Regions from separate parts of the Homo sapiens genome. Here all the other regions are linked to region 2. The links are contacts of gene promoters, found by promoter capture Hi-C in blood cells and fetal thymus (Javierre and others, 2016). All regions are on one chromosome and are shown on one strand. The core of a region is centred on a gene start or on the middle of the fragment in contact, and the rest is flanking DNA. Distances in the headings are between cores, read along the strand shown. Region 1 overlaps REXO1 (RNA exonuclease 1 homolog). Region 2 holds the start of C19orf25 (chromosome 19 open reading frame 25). Region 3 overlaps ONECUT3 (one cut homeobox 3).

What was found. Contacts are between HindIII fragments. The CHiCAGO score rates a contact against its expected background, and 5 or more counts as called.
Region 1: a fragment that was not itself captured here is called in contact with the fragment with the promoter of C19orf25 in region 2 in 1 of 17 cell types (naive CD4 T cells); the score reaches 6.4 in naive CD4 T cells.
Region 3: a fragment that was not itself captured here is called in contact with the fragment with the promoter of C19orf25 in region 2 in 4 of 17 cell types (M1 macrophages, M2 macrophages, total B cells and 1 more); the score reaches 7.9 in M1 macrophages.

What each region holds. Positions count from the first base shown.
Region 1 is chr19:1,843,047-1,847,345 of GRCh38, reverse strand. All of the region lies in intron 1 of REXO1 (RNA exonuclease 1 homolog), which reads left to right. Among named protein-coding and RNA genes, the nearest start is that of REXO1, 3.3 kb to the left of the region's middle. The HindIII fragment of the contact is 4,342 bases long and covers 1-4,039 here.
Region 2 is chr19:1,477,149-1,481,024 of GRCh38, reverse strand. C19orf25 (chromosome 19 open reading frame 25) reads left to right here and starts at 1,810. Exons shown (of 3, transcript NM_152482.3): 1 at 1,810-1,862; 2 at 2,120-2,251. The coding sequence starts at 2,122. RefSeq lists enhancers at 1,644-1,763, 2,125-2,625 and a silencer at 1,984-2,033. The HindIII fragment of the contact is 20,570 bases long and covers 1-3,483 here.
Region 3 is chr19:1,779,446-1,783,409 of GRCh38, reverse strand. ONECUT3 (one cut homeobox 3) reads right to left here. Exons shown (of 2, transcript NM_001080488.2): 2 at 2,422-3,964. ATP8B3 (ATPase phospholipid transporting 8B3) reads left to right here. Exons shown (of 29, transcript NM_138813.4): 29 at 140-1,335. The coding sequence ends at 382. Among named protein-coding and RNA genes, the nearest start is that of ONECUT3, 28 kb to the right of the region's middle. The HindIII fragment of the contact is 271 bases long and covers 1,487-1,757 here.

The sequences.
Region 1 (4,299 bases), core at 619-3,118, 370 kb before region 2:
TTACTTTAACCATGAAACAGTCTCAGCTCAGAACCTTTTCCTGCAAAAGAGAAACATCTTCTCTAGGATTTAAGAATAGGTTTATTTTCCTGTTTTGCCAGAAAAGGTAGCATTTTTTTCTGATTTCCCTGATAAGTGTGCTTGGGACACCTGCACCTGTGGGCGGTTGTTTGCAGGTGGACAGATGCAAGCAATCACTTGTCAGCTCCCCACAGCCCAGCGTCTTCGCTGTGTTTGAGGCGGGGGATTCAGAGCTGCGTACGATGCCGGCTGTGCTCTCAGGGACCTGCCGACAGCTGTGCCTACAGATCCCGTAGCATAGGTCGTGATGTCCTGGGAGCACGCAGCCGGCTTTGGCGGGGGCTGGGAGTTGGTGAAGAAGGCAACGCGTGGGAGAGGCTTCTCGGAGGCTGTGACACCAGACTCACGATGCTCATTTTAACCCTATTTTTAGAGACAGGGTCTCACTCTATAGTCCAGGCTGGAGTGCAGTGGTGCGATCACAGCTCTTTGAGGCCTCGACCTCCTGGGCTCAAGGGATCCTCCTGCCTGAACCTCCTGAGTAGCTGGGACTATGGGCGGCGGGTGCCACCAAGCCTGGCTAACTTTGTATGTTTTCGTGGAGATAGGGTCTCGCTATGTTGTCCAGGCTTGTCTCAAAACTCCTGGCCTCGAGCCGACCTCCTGCTTCGGCCTCCCAAAGTGCTGGGGTTACAGGTGTGAGCTACTGCACCCGGCGCAAGTCAGGCTTATGATATCTGTCTGCATCCCAAATGGCTCATTTGTTTCCCAAAGGCTTATTTTTGAGGGTCCCTTTGGTGATGTCGTCTTCCTGTCTGCCCCCCGTTCCTATGGGAAAAAGGCAGCTGCCTGCCTCTTACCATGGCGTGTCTGCATTTCCCTTTTGCTGGTGAGAATGAACTCCTTTTCCCATCTCTGGTGGGGTGGTAGGGCTTCTTGTTACTGTCTGGTAGAAGACTGCCTCCCCCCGCAGAAGGCAGGATCCATCTTCCTTGCGGTGAGGTTTCTCTGACCCTCTGTTTCCGCCTCCGTGACATGTTCATCAGGCTGCCCTCTGAGGACAGGGGGGGATGCATGTCCCATGTCCACACCTCCAGATTTACACACACCCAGTTTCCTATGAGATTTGAAGAGGCTGGCGTGATCTAGCCTTTGCCATGTCTTCTCAAGGGGATTTTAGGGTGCACAGGGCAGCGGCCTCCAGAGAGGAGATAGACAGGAACGCTGGCCTCCCAGGATTGAGAGTGGACAGAGGTTCAGGTGAAAAGCCCTCAGCTAGCCCTGGAGCACCTGTGGGGCCATGCTCTGTGCTGGACACGCGCTGCATGGTGACCCTGTGAGCTATTTGCTGCCGGTGGGGAAACGGAGGCTTATCGAGGAACGTGTTTTGCCCATACTACCACCTGGCCAGGGCAGGGCTGGAGCCTCCAGGGCCTCTGGGAGAAGGAGAGGGCATCTGATGAGGGCACCAAGGCAGGCAGGGTTGGGAGGCTTGGCGGAGCTGCGACGGGAACAGGAAGGTGGCTGGTGCTCCTGGGCCCTGGGTCACAGGCTCAGCGGGTCATTGGCGACCTTGAGCAGCACTGCTGAAGGACTCAGGTTTCCTTCTGGGCTCTTATCCCTGGACCTGCTCAGCCATTTTATTTAATGAATTAATTTTTGAGACAGGGTCTCACTTTATCACCCAGGCTGGAGTGCAGTGGTGCGATCACAGCTTACTGCAGCCTCGACCTCCTGGACTCAAGGGATCCACCTGGCTCAGCCTCCTGACTAGCTGAGACCACAGGCATGTGACATCACACCTCGCTAATGTTTAAAATTTTTGCCGAGACGGGGTCTCACTTTGTTGCCCATGCTGGTCTTGAGCTCCTGGACTCAAGCGATCCTCTCTCCTCAGCCTCCTGAAGTGCTGGGATGACAGGCGTGAAGCACCGCGCTGGGCTGCACAGCCATTTCAGAGCCGGCTGGACCTGCCCAGGGTGGCTTGGAGGGATGGTCCAGCAGCCCTTACGGCGGGCACCGTGTAGCCCTGGGACGCAGGGATGTGCATCCCCGGCCTAGAGGGGCACGTTCTATCCCAGCCTTGTGAGTTGGGAATGAGCGTTACTATCCCCCCAGTGGCCGCTCTCTGCTGCCTGGGCCTTGGCTGCAGCCTGGTGGTAGGTGAGGGGCCTCGGTTGTCTATGTGGAGTGGGCAGGGCTAGATCCCACCTTCCTCCCATCTGACCTCAGAACCCAGGCCTCTGCCCACTGCCCCGCACTCCCTGTGGTGTCTCAGGGAGTCTGTGTCCTACTGAGAGGCAGGACACTGTCTTCCAGGAGAGGGAACCCTTCCGGGGAGGATTGCAGGAAAGTCCAGGGCTCTCCAGAGGTGCGGTGGGCCCCAGCTCAGGGCTTCACAGCTCCGGCAGGAACGTGCTCCCAGATGATGCTTCTCCTGAGGGAGGCAGAGGCTGAGGGCACCACGTTGAGGGGATGCTAGTGCTGCGCCACAGGCTGACTCAGGCCCCAGCAGGACAGTCCCAGGCCTGGGGAAGGGGCCATCCTATACTGCAAAGTGAGCGGCAGACGTGTGTGCGGGGCGCACAGCTCCTGCCCTCGGGGATCCCGCAGTCGGGTTCAGGATCTGGCAGCCCGGTGCCAGTGGTTCTGGGTGGGGCTGTTGGCGGCGTCCCAGCTGGGGCTCCAGGCGACTCTCCAGAACTGCATCTGTAGAGGGCAGGAGTCCTGGGGTAGAGGCGCTCAGGGAGCAGCCCCAGGTACATGGGGAGCCCTGAAGCCCACCCACTGTGTACCCAGTATCTACTGAAGCCCACCCACCGTGTACCCAATATCTCCTGAAGCCCAGCCACCATGTACCCAGTATCTCCTGAGCCTTCTAGCAGAGTCGGGTCAGGCAGGGGTCCTCCTCCTTCTGGCTCTTCAGATGTGGCCCCTCACATGGGCTCTGGGGTCCCTACCTCTTGACTTGGCCACTACCACAGCAGTACTGGGCGGACTCTGCCTGTGACCCCCAAACAGCAGTGGGAGTGGCTCTTCCCAGTTTACAGATGAGGAAACTGAGGCCCAGCGCCGGGAGGCTGCTCACCTGTGTACGCGTGGCTGGTAACTGGCAGTGCTGGGTTGGATGTGGGTGGGCCGGGGCCCTGCCTGCCTCCTCTGCCGTTTTTGCTGCCAGCCTCTGTGGGCTGGGCACAGAAGGGAACTTGAAACCTTCCAAGGATGGGCCTGAAGCAGGCCTGGCTCTCCGGTGTCGGTGACAGCCTCCCATACCCCTGCTAGGCAGGTGAGCCCTGGGATCCTACTGATCTGTTAGGGCTTGCCAGCTCTCCTCGGAAACTCTGAGGCCCCGAGTCAGGCGAGAAGGGAGAAGGAGGCCAAGAATGGCGCCTCGCTGCAGAGGATGGCTTGCCTTCATTTCCTCTGGCCTCTCAGGAGGGTCAGGAGCTCCCGCTGGCTGCGTCCTGTGCTGCCTCCTCCTGGTGGATGGGAGACAGCCGGCTTTCCGTGGGGCAGTGAAGGCACCGTCTGACCACCTGTGTCACCTTCAGAGACGTGACAGTGTGTGCTCTCCTCGGTCCGACTTTTCATCCTCAGTGAGCCGCGTCCAGGAAGGAATGGACTCTAGGGGAGAACCCCCGCAGCCAGCAGTATTGTCTTTTGGTTCCCCAGGCCTGACCAGGGCGTATGAGGACCCGGGGGTGATTTTACCAGCGGGTGGCAGGTGGGCAATCGGGCCACCGGGGCCGCCTGCCTGCCTGGCCTGGAGTGGCAGCTATGGAGCTTGCTGGAGGGACGGTTGGTGCTAGGGACACTGGGGGCCAGATTGTCGTCTGGTGGGCTGTCCTTTGCGTTGTAGGATGTTGAGCAGCGTCCCTGGGCTTCCCTGACCCCAGTGGTGACAACCAGCGGTGGTGCTGAGGCCGTTTCTTTTTCAGCCCTCGCCGGCGAGCCTGCGAGTCCAGCTGCGGCTCTGGGCCCTGGGGAGCTGGGACCCTCCGGGCGGGGGGTTGAAGCTTTGCCCAGCTGTGGCTCTGGGCCCTGGGGAGCTGGGACCCTCCGGGCGGGGGGTTGAAGCTTTGCCCAGCTGCGGCTCTGGGCCCGGGGAGCTGGGACCCTCCGGGCTGGGGGTTGAAGCTTCGCCCAGCTGCGGCTCTGGGCCCGGGGAGCTGGGACCCTCCGGGCGGGGGGTTGAAGCTTTGCCCTGGCCTCGAGGAGGAGGAGCCCTCCCCCACACTCCTACCACAGAGTGGGTGGCTCTGCTGCCCCGTGACTCTT
Region 2 (3,876 bases), core at 561-3,060:
CTGGCCCTTTCCTCCCTCCCTCCCTTCCTTCCTTTTCTTTACTTCCTTCCTTCTTTCCTTCCTTTCTTCCTTCTCTTTCCTTCCTTTTTTAGTAGAGATGGGTTTCACCATGTTGGCCAGGATGGTCTCGATCTCCTGACCTCGTGATTCGCCCACCTCGGCCTCCCAAAGTGCTGGGATTACAGGCTTGAGCCACCGCACCTGGCCCCTTCCTTCCTTTCCTTTTCTTTCTTTCTTTCCTTCTTTCTCTTTCCTTTTTCTTTCTTCCTCTTTCTTTTCTTTTTCTTTCTCTCTCGCCTTCCTTTCTTCCGTTCTTCCTTCTCTTTCCTTCCTTTCCTTTCTTTTCTCCCTTTTCTTCTTTACTTTCTTCTCTTTATTTCCTTTTTCTTTTTTTTCTTTCTCTCTCTCCTTCCTTCCTTTTTCTTCTCCTTCCTTCTTTCCTTTCTTTCTCTTTCTTTCCTTTTCCCTCTCTCTGTCCCTTCCTTCCTTCCTTCTCTCTCAACAATATTTTTTTTTTTGAGACAGAGTCTTGCTCTGTCGCCCAGGCTGGAGTGCAGTGGCACGATCTCGGCTCACTGCAAGCTCTGCCTCTCGGGTTCATGCCATTCTCCTGCCCCAGCCTCCTGAGTAGCTGGGACTACAGGCAACCGCCACCATGCCTGGTTAATTTTGTTTTTCTTTTTGTATTTTTAGTAGAGACAGGGTTTCACCATGTTAGCCAGGATGGTCTTGATCTCCTGACCTCGTGATCCACCCACCTCGGCCTCCCAAAGCGCTGGGATTACAGGCGTGAGCCAACACACCCAGCCTAATTTTTGTATTTTTAGTAGAGACGGGGTCTCACCATGTTGGCCAGGCTGGTCTCAAACTGGCCTCAAGTGATCTGCCCGCCTCGGCCTCCCAAAGTGCTGGGATTACAGGCATGAGCCACCGCGCCCAGGCTGAATTTACAGTTTAAACAGGCGAATTTGGCCGGGCGCGGTGGCTCACGCCCGTAATCCCAGCACTTTGGGAGGCTGAGGCGGGCGGATTGCCTGAGCTCAGGAGTTTGACACCAGCCTGGGCAACACAGTGAAGCCCCATCTCTACTAAAATACAAAAAAAAATTTTGACGGACGTGGTGGCGGGCGCCTGTAGTCCCAGCTACTCGGGAGGCTGAGGCAGGAGAATTGCTTGAACTCGGGAGGCGGAGGTTGCAGTGAGCTGAGATCACGCCACTGCACTCCGGCCTGGGCGACACAGTGAGACTCTGTCTCTAAAAAAACAAAACAAAACGAAATAAACAGGAGAACTTTATGGTATGTAAACTGCATCTCAATAAAGCCCCTGAGAGAGGAAAAGGGCCCTCTGCTCTTTCTGCCTTCCCAGGCATCAGCGGAGAGGAAAAGGTGACCTCCAGCACCGTCCCCGAGGTGGGAGGACCCGCCTTGGCCGGAAGTGGAGGCGCCGCGACCGCCCCGCCCCCGCTGTGTTCCGGCCGCCGAGTGCTCATGCACCACCAGGCTCCCTTAGGTGGACAGCAATTTTGTGCTCCCGTCAGCCACATGGGTGGCGTGTCCCCTAGTGCCGTGTTCCCCTTTTCAGAAAGACGAGCCTCGGATGCTTTTCTACCCAGCCAGTGGAGCCTGGACTCGAACTCGCTCTCATCGTAGCGCGTCCAGGTTCGGGTTCGCCTGAGAGGCTGAGATCCGAGTCTCAAGGGCACTATCCCTTTAAGACGGGGCGGAGCCCCGCGATGAGCGGCGGGCCGGCGGGAGAGGAGGCCGGAAGTGTGTGTCACGTGTTCGGGGACGGGGCGGTGCTCCGACCGGAATCGGAAGTGGCTGCGTCGTCGACGCTGGGCTTTCGGGTCCCGCGCCCAGGTGGGAAGAGGCCGGCGACTGGGGTGACCGCGGGGAAACTGAGGCAGAGGTTGAGCCAGACCCTGAAGCCTTGGCCACCGTGTTTTTGGGCGGAGGGAGGGTCAGGGCCTGGGGCGAGCTCAGAGGGGCGGGACAGGGCGGGCTTCCCCGGGAGCGGGACCGCGACGGGTGCGTACGAGTTCGCTGGGCGGGAGGAGCAGCCCGGGCAAGGGCGGAGAGGTGGACGCCCCGGTCAGCGCCCCCTTCCCCGCCTTCAGAGATGGGCTCCAAGGCAAAGAAGCGCGTGCTGCTGCCCACCCGCCCAGCGCCCCCCACGGTGGAGCAGATCCTGGAGGATGTGCGGGGTGCGCCGGCAGAGGATCCAGTGTTCACCATCCTGGCCCCGGAAGGTAGGGGGAGCCCGGTCCCGGGGAAAAGCGGACCTGAGACCCCGGCAGCAAGGGGACGGGAGAGAAGCACACCCCTAACTCCTGACCCCACGCCCTGGGAACCCCCGCAACATGGGCACGGTCCGTATCCTCTCCGAGTCTCCCTCTACTCCTCCGTAGAGTGGGACCGATTTTCAGAGGGTTCTTCTGACAGGGGTGGAGGCCGGGCGCTGTGGTTCAGGCCTGTAAGCCCAGCACTTTCGGAGGATGAGGCGGGAGGATCGCTTGAGCCCAGGAGTTCGAGACCAGCCTGGCCAACATGGTGAAACCCCGTCTCTGCTAAAAATGAAAAAACAAAACAAAAACAAAAACAAAAACAAAACAGAGTTAGCTGGGCATAGTGGCAGGCGCCTGTAATCTCAGCTACTCGGGAGGCTGAGGCAGGAGAATCGCTTGAACCCGGGATGCAGAGTTTGCAGTGAGCCGAGATCGCACCACTGCACTCCAGCCCAGGTGACAGTGCGAGACTGTCTCAAAAAAAAAAAAAAATTACTGGGTGTGGTGGTGGACACTTGTAGCCCCAGCTTCTTGGAGGCTAAAGTGGGAGGATACAGCCTAGGCAACACAGCCAGACTGTGTCTCAAAAATAAATAAGTGGCCGGTGCGGTGGCTCACGCCTATAATCCCAGCACTTTGGGAGGCCGAGGTGGGTGGATCACTTGAGGTCAGAGGTTGGACACCAGCCTGGCCAACATGGTGGAACCTTGTCTCTACTAAAAATACAAAAATTAGCCGGGTGTGGTGGCATGGGCCTGTAATCCCAGCCACTCAGGAGACTGAGGCAGGAGAATCACTTGAACCTGGGAGTCGGAGGTTGCAGTGAGCTGAGATCACGCAACTGCACTCCAGCCTGGACCACAGTGAGACTCTGTTTCAATAATTATAATAATAATTAATAAATAGAAATAAATAAAGTAAAACAGAGGTGGTAAGCTAGGGCCCCCCAAACCCTGCCCCTGGCTGTTTTTTTAAGGTCTGGGAGCTATGAATGGACTTCACATTTTTAAATGGGGGTGGGTGAAAAAGAACATTTCTGACACCTGAAAGAGGTATGAAATTCAGATTTCAGTGTTGGTAAGTAAAGGTTTACGGCACACAGCCAAATGATTCACATACGGTTAGTGGCTGCTCTCACACCAGAAGGGCAGAGTTGAGTAGTGGGAGCAGAGACTCCAGCCTTTGGCAGGAAAGCTTGTCCACTCCTGATTTACGAGGTGGAAGCTAGTCAGAGACCAAAGGATTCAGCAGTGCAGTTGGGTGAATTTTGTGTTCTGGATGAGGCTCATTCATTCATTCAACAATCCTTTTCTTGAGCACTTCCTGTGTGCTGGGCTCTGCGCTTAGAGCACTGCTAATGGACAAGTGAACAAAAGAAACAAGAATGTCTGCCCCAGGCTGTTCTGGGGCTGGCGGGAAACAAATGAAGATGAATCGGCCAGGTGCGGTGGCTCACACCTGTAATCCCAGCACTTTGGGTGGCTGAGGTGGGCGGATCATTTGAGGTCAGGAGTTCAAGGCCACCCTGGCCAACATGGTGAAACCCCGTCTCTACTGAGAATACAAAAACATTAGCTGGGCATGGTGGC
Region 3 (3,964 bases), core at 373-2,872, 300 kb before region 2:
GCTCAACTTGGGTAGGGAAGAACGTAGCCAATCAATAGTGGCCAAGGGCTTTGAATCCTGCCTCTCCTACTTGGGGGACCTGAGAGCCATCAGCCAAGCATAGGAGTCTGCTTCCCCTGCTCTCCCCTTTGCTCTTCAGGAGGAGAAGGTGGAGGAGGGCCCCAGCGAGGAGATTTTCACCATGGAGCCCTTGCCTCATGTACACCGGGAGTCTCGTGCCCGCCGTTCCAGCTATGCTTTCTCCCACCGTGAGGGATATGCAAACCTCATCACTCAGGGCACAATTCTGCGGAGGGGACCAGGGGTCAGCAGTGACATAGCATCTGAATCCCTAGACCCATCTGATGAAGAGGCAGCTTCGAGCCCAAAAGAGTCACAGTGACACCTCAGGAAGATGTCCTTCCTGGGGAAGAAGAAGCACCAGCCACAGGGGCAGGTGTCCTCCCAGGAAGTACAGCTCCCCCCTACACCTAGCTCATCATTTTCTATGGATAGACAATCCGCTCTTCATCCAGAAAACCAACCTGCCCTCCCCAAATATGTGCTCACCAGCAGCAACAGGCTATCTGAGTCTTTCCAAGAGCAATTGCCAAGGGCACAGGAGAGGTCATTGTCACCCAAGCAGAGGCCACCTTCTCCTGAGAAGTTGCTGTTGACCAAGGAGAGGTCACATTCTTTTCAGGAGAAATCACTGTTGCACAGAGAAAGCCAGCTGTCGTCATTTGAGAGCCAGCCACAGCCTCTGGGGAGCCAGTCATTTCTTTCAGGCCAGCTGACGTTGGAGAGCCAGCCAGACTCCTCGGAGGAGAAGTCAGCATTTTTGAAGCCCTCCACACCGTTCCGGAAGAGCTGGCAAAAGGAGCCTCACACCCCCAAGGAGGGGACGGTGCCACTTCCAGACAAGACCCACAAATCTCAGGTGGAGACTCTGCCACCAAGTCTGGAAGAATCGTCCACGTCCACGAGCGAGCAGCCTATGGAGGTGGAGCTGTGGCCCGCGGAGAAGCAGTCATCATCATCCATGGAGTGGCTGCTGGTGCCCGGGGAGGAGCAGCTATCCTTGCCCCCAGAGGAGCAGTCATTGCCCTCTGCGGAGGGGACCAGGGTTCAGCAGTGACGTAGCATCTGAATCCCTAGACCCATCTGATGAAGAGGCATCTTCGAGCCCAAAGGAGTCACGCTGGCATATCAGGAAGATGTCCTTCCTGGGAAGAAGAAGCTCCAGCCAGTTCTGCTGCAAGTCAACCAGCATGCAGGGGGCCTTCCTCTAAAGACAAGGACTCCACATGCTTTTCTTTTTCTAATAAACCAGGGTCCATCTGACCCCAGCGCTAATTCAGGCTCCCTCTTTCCCTACACTTTTTTTGTGATGGAATATTCCTTCCCGGTTTTTAAAATCAAAACACTGACCTCTAGTGGTCCAGCCGGGTATTTGCAGGGAAAACTTTCCTTCTTCATGCTGGGGTAAGATAATGTGGGTAAAGCTTCATTGCTCTCAAAAGTTGCTTATTAAAAGCTGTGGCTCCCCCGCTGCCTGACAGCTGGCCCCTCCCAAGAAAGTTTATAAATTCCAGTTCTTGTACCATCTAGCTTCTTCCTCTATCGGGAAGCCCTGGTTTCTCCCATTCAAATACACCTTCATTCACTGGGGCCTCCGTTCACTTTAGACTCCAGAAAGCAATGAGCAGTGATGTCACAGAAGCAGGTCCTGACAAGGTGTGCATCTTGGGGCTTGGTTGACTCAAAGGCGCCAAGCTTTTCCTTCTAAGGCGCCAAGCTTTTCTTTCTGATTCTTTTTTTTTTTTTTTTTTTGAGACGGAGTCTCACTCTGTCGCCCAGGCTGGAGTGCAGTGGCGCGATCTCGGCTCACTGCAAGCTCCACCTTCCGGGTTCACAGCATTCTCCTGCCTCAGCCTCCTGAGTAGCTGGGAATACAGGCGCCCACCACCATGCCTGGCTAATTTTTTGTATTTTTTAGTAGAGACGGGGTTTCACCGTGTTAGCCAGGATGGTCTTGATCTCCTGACCTCGTGATCCGCCTGCCTTGGCCTCCCAAAGTGCTGGGATTACAGGTGTGAGCCACCGCGCCTGGCCTCTTTCTGATTCTTACCATTCCCTGTGGGTGGTGGACTTGTGTGGGTGGTGGAGTTGTGTGGATTGTGGAGGCTCAGAGCTGGCCACTGGCCCAGGAAGAAGACGGGACTCAGAGCAGAGAGGGGCGAGCTGGGTGGAAGCAAAGTCCGTCTTCCCTGCACTCCGGTCCTCCCTCCCCAGCCTCGAGGTGGGCGAGTTCCATTCCCGCCCCCTATCTGTGCCCGACCCGTCAGCTAACACACACGCCCAGGTGAGTGACTAGAAAATAATTTATTGAAGAAAAACAAATCAACAAACCCAGCACAGCAATGGTTAACAATGACGAGATTTTTTTTTTTTTTTAGCTTTTAAGCCTGTCGCCCAAGGGTGAAGGTGGAAAAGGGCTTCTCTCCCCTGTCCCTGGAGGGGAGGGGACTTTGGAGGGTCCAAGTGGTGTCTCCCCTGAAAGCAGCCCTCAGTTCCAGTCTATTCAAAACACTCAAGGCCGCAGGGCCTCCTGGCTCTTCCGTCACCCCCGGCTGAGCTCATTCCACCAAAACCAGCCCCTGCGTGGTCTGACAGGGCCACGAGGAGGAGCCCCAGGAGTCTACTGGCCTGATTTTGCTTAAACCGCTTGGGGCAGAGAATGTGAAATGGCCCAAGCTCCTGCTGGTGCAAGGAGCATCCTGGCCCCGGCATCATTTCAGATTTGAGGTCAGCTGAGCCCTCAGCCCCAGGCCCAGCCCTCCAGACCAGGGCTTGCTGCTTTATGGGGTGAGAAGCACCCCGTTTAGCTACCCCGCCCCCCCCTACTGGGGCCTGTCCCAAAAGCGGCCCCTCTCATCTCTCCCCTGCCGCCCTCTCCTCCAGCCTCTGTTCCCAAGCTGGCACATCTGTGCCCCTTTCCACCTCCAGGGACTATCTGGGGATGGCTCAGGGACGTGGCCTCATGGCACAAGAGGAGTCAGAGGCAGAGGACATTGTCCCAGAGCCCCCTTTGATGATTTTGGGGAGTCCTCTGTTCTGTAGGCTCCGAAAGTGGGCTGGGAGGGAGGGGTCTCTGCAGGCGTACACCCCCTGCCTCCCGGGCTGGACAGAAAGGCGGACTCATGCCCAGCCCAGGGAGGGAGGCCGAGGCTGTCTGGGTGGAGGTGGGGGGGGAGGGGGTGCTGGTGCCTGCTGTTGGGGCCCTCAGGAGGGTCCTTCAGATCTCAGGAAGTTGGGGCACACTCCCGTCCCCCACCACCCTGGGCAACAAGACAAGAATAGGCTGATTGTCTGTCTCCTCTGAACAAGACACTTGGGAATTCATGCTAGAGTGAAAGCAACCGGGTGATGGGGGGTTGGGGGGGTCTAAGATATCGATGACACCAGAGTGCCCCCAAGAACCAGGAACTGAGGGGGGGACGCTCGGTGGCTCCCGCCTGGCTGGGGCAGGCAGGTGGCATCTCGGGTGGAGATGGACAGGCAGGTGGAGGAGACCCGGCTACTGAGGCTCTGTTCCCGCCCCCTCTACCTGGGGCCCCGTCCACCTGTCCCGGCTGGACACAGTTCCTTAGAAAGGAGGAAAGAAACAGTAACGAAAAACCACTGAACAGCACCGATCAGGCACCAGACACACAGATGCGACACGGAACCGGGCCACGCCCCCCGCCCCCCACCCTGACCACTTTATTACAATTAGCGTCAAGAAAGAGTACATTAGTCATGCACCAACTCAAATTCCATTTTGTCTTTTTTTTTTGCATTTTTCTTCCTTTTTTTTTCTTAAATTACATTTGAACACAGAACACAGAGAATAATAAATACTCTTATAAGACATGACTCCAGAAAACAAGAAACAGAACAAGCCAGAGAACAGAAAGGTATACCTCTGCCTCTCTCTCTCCCT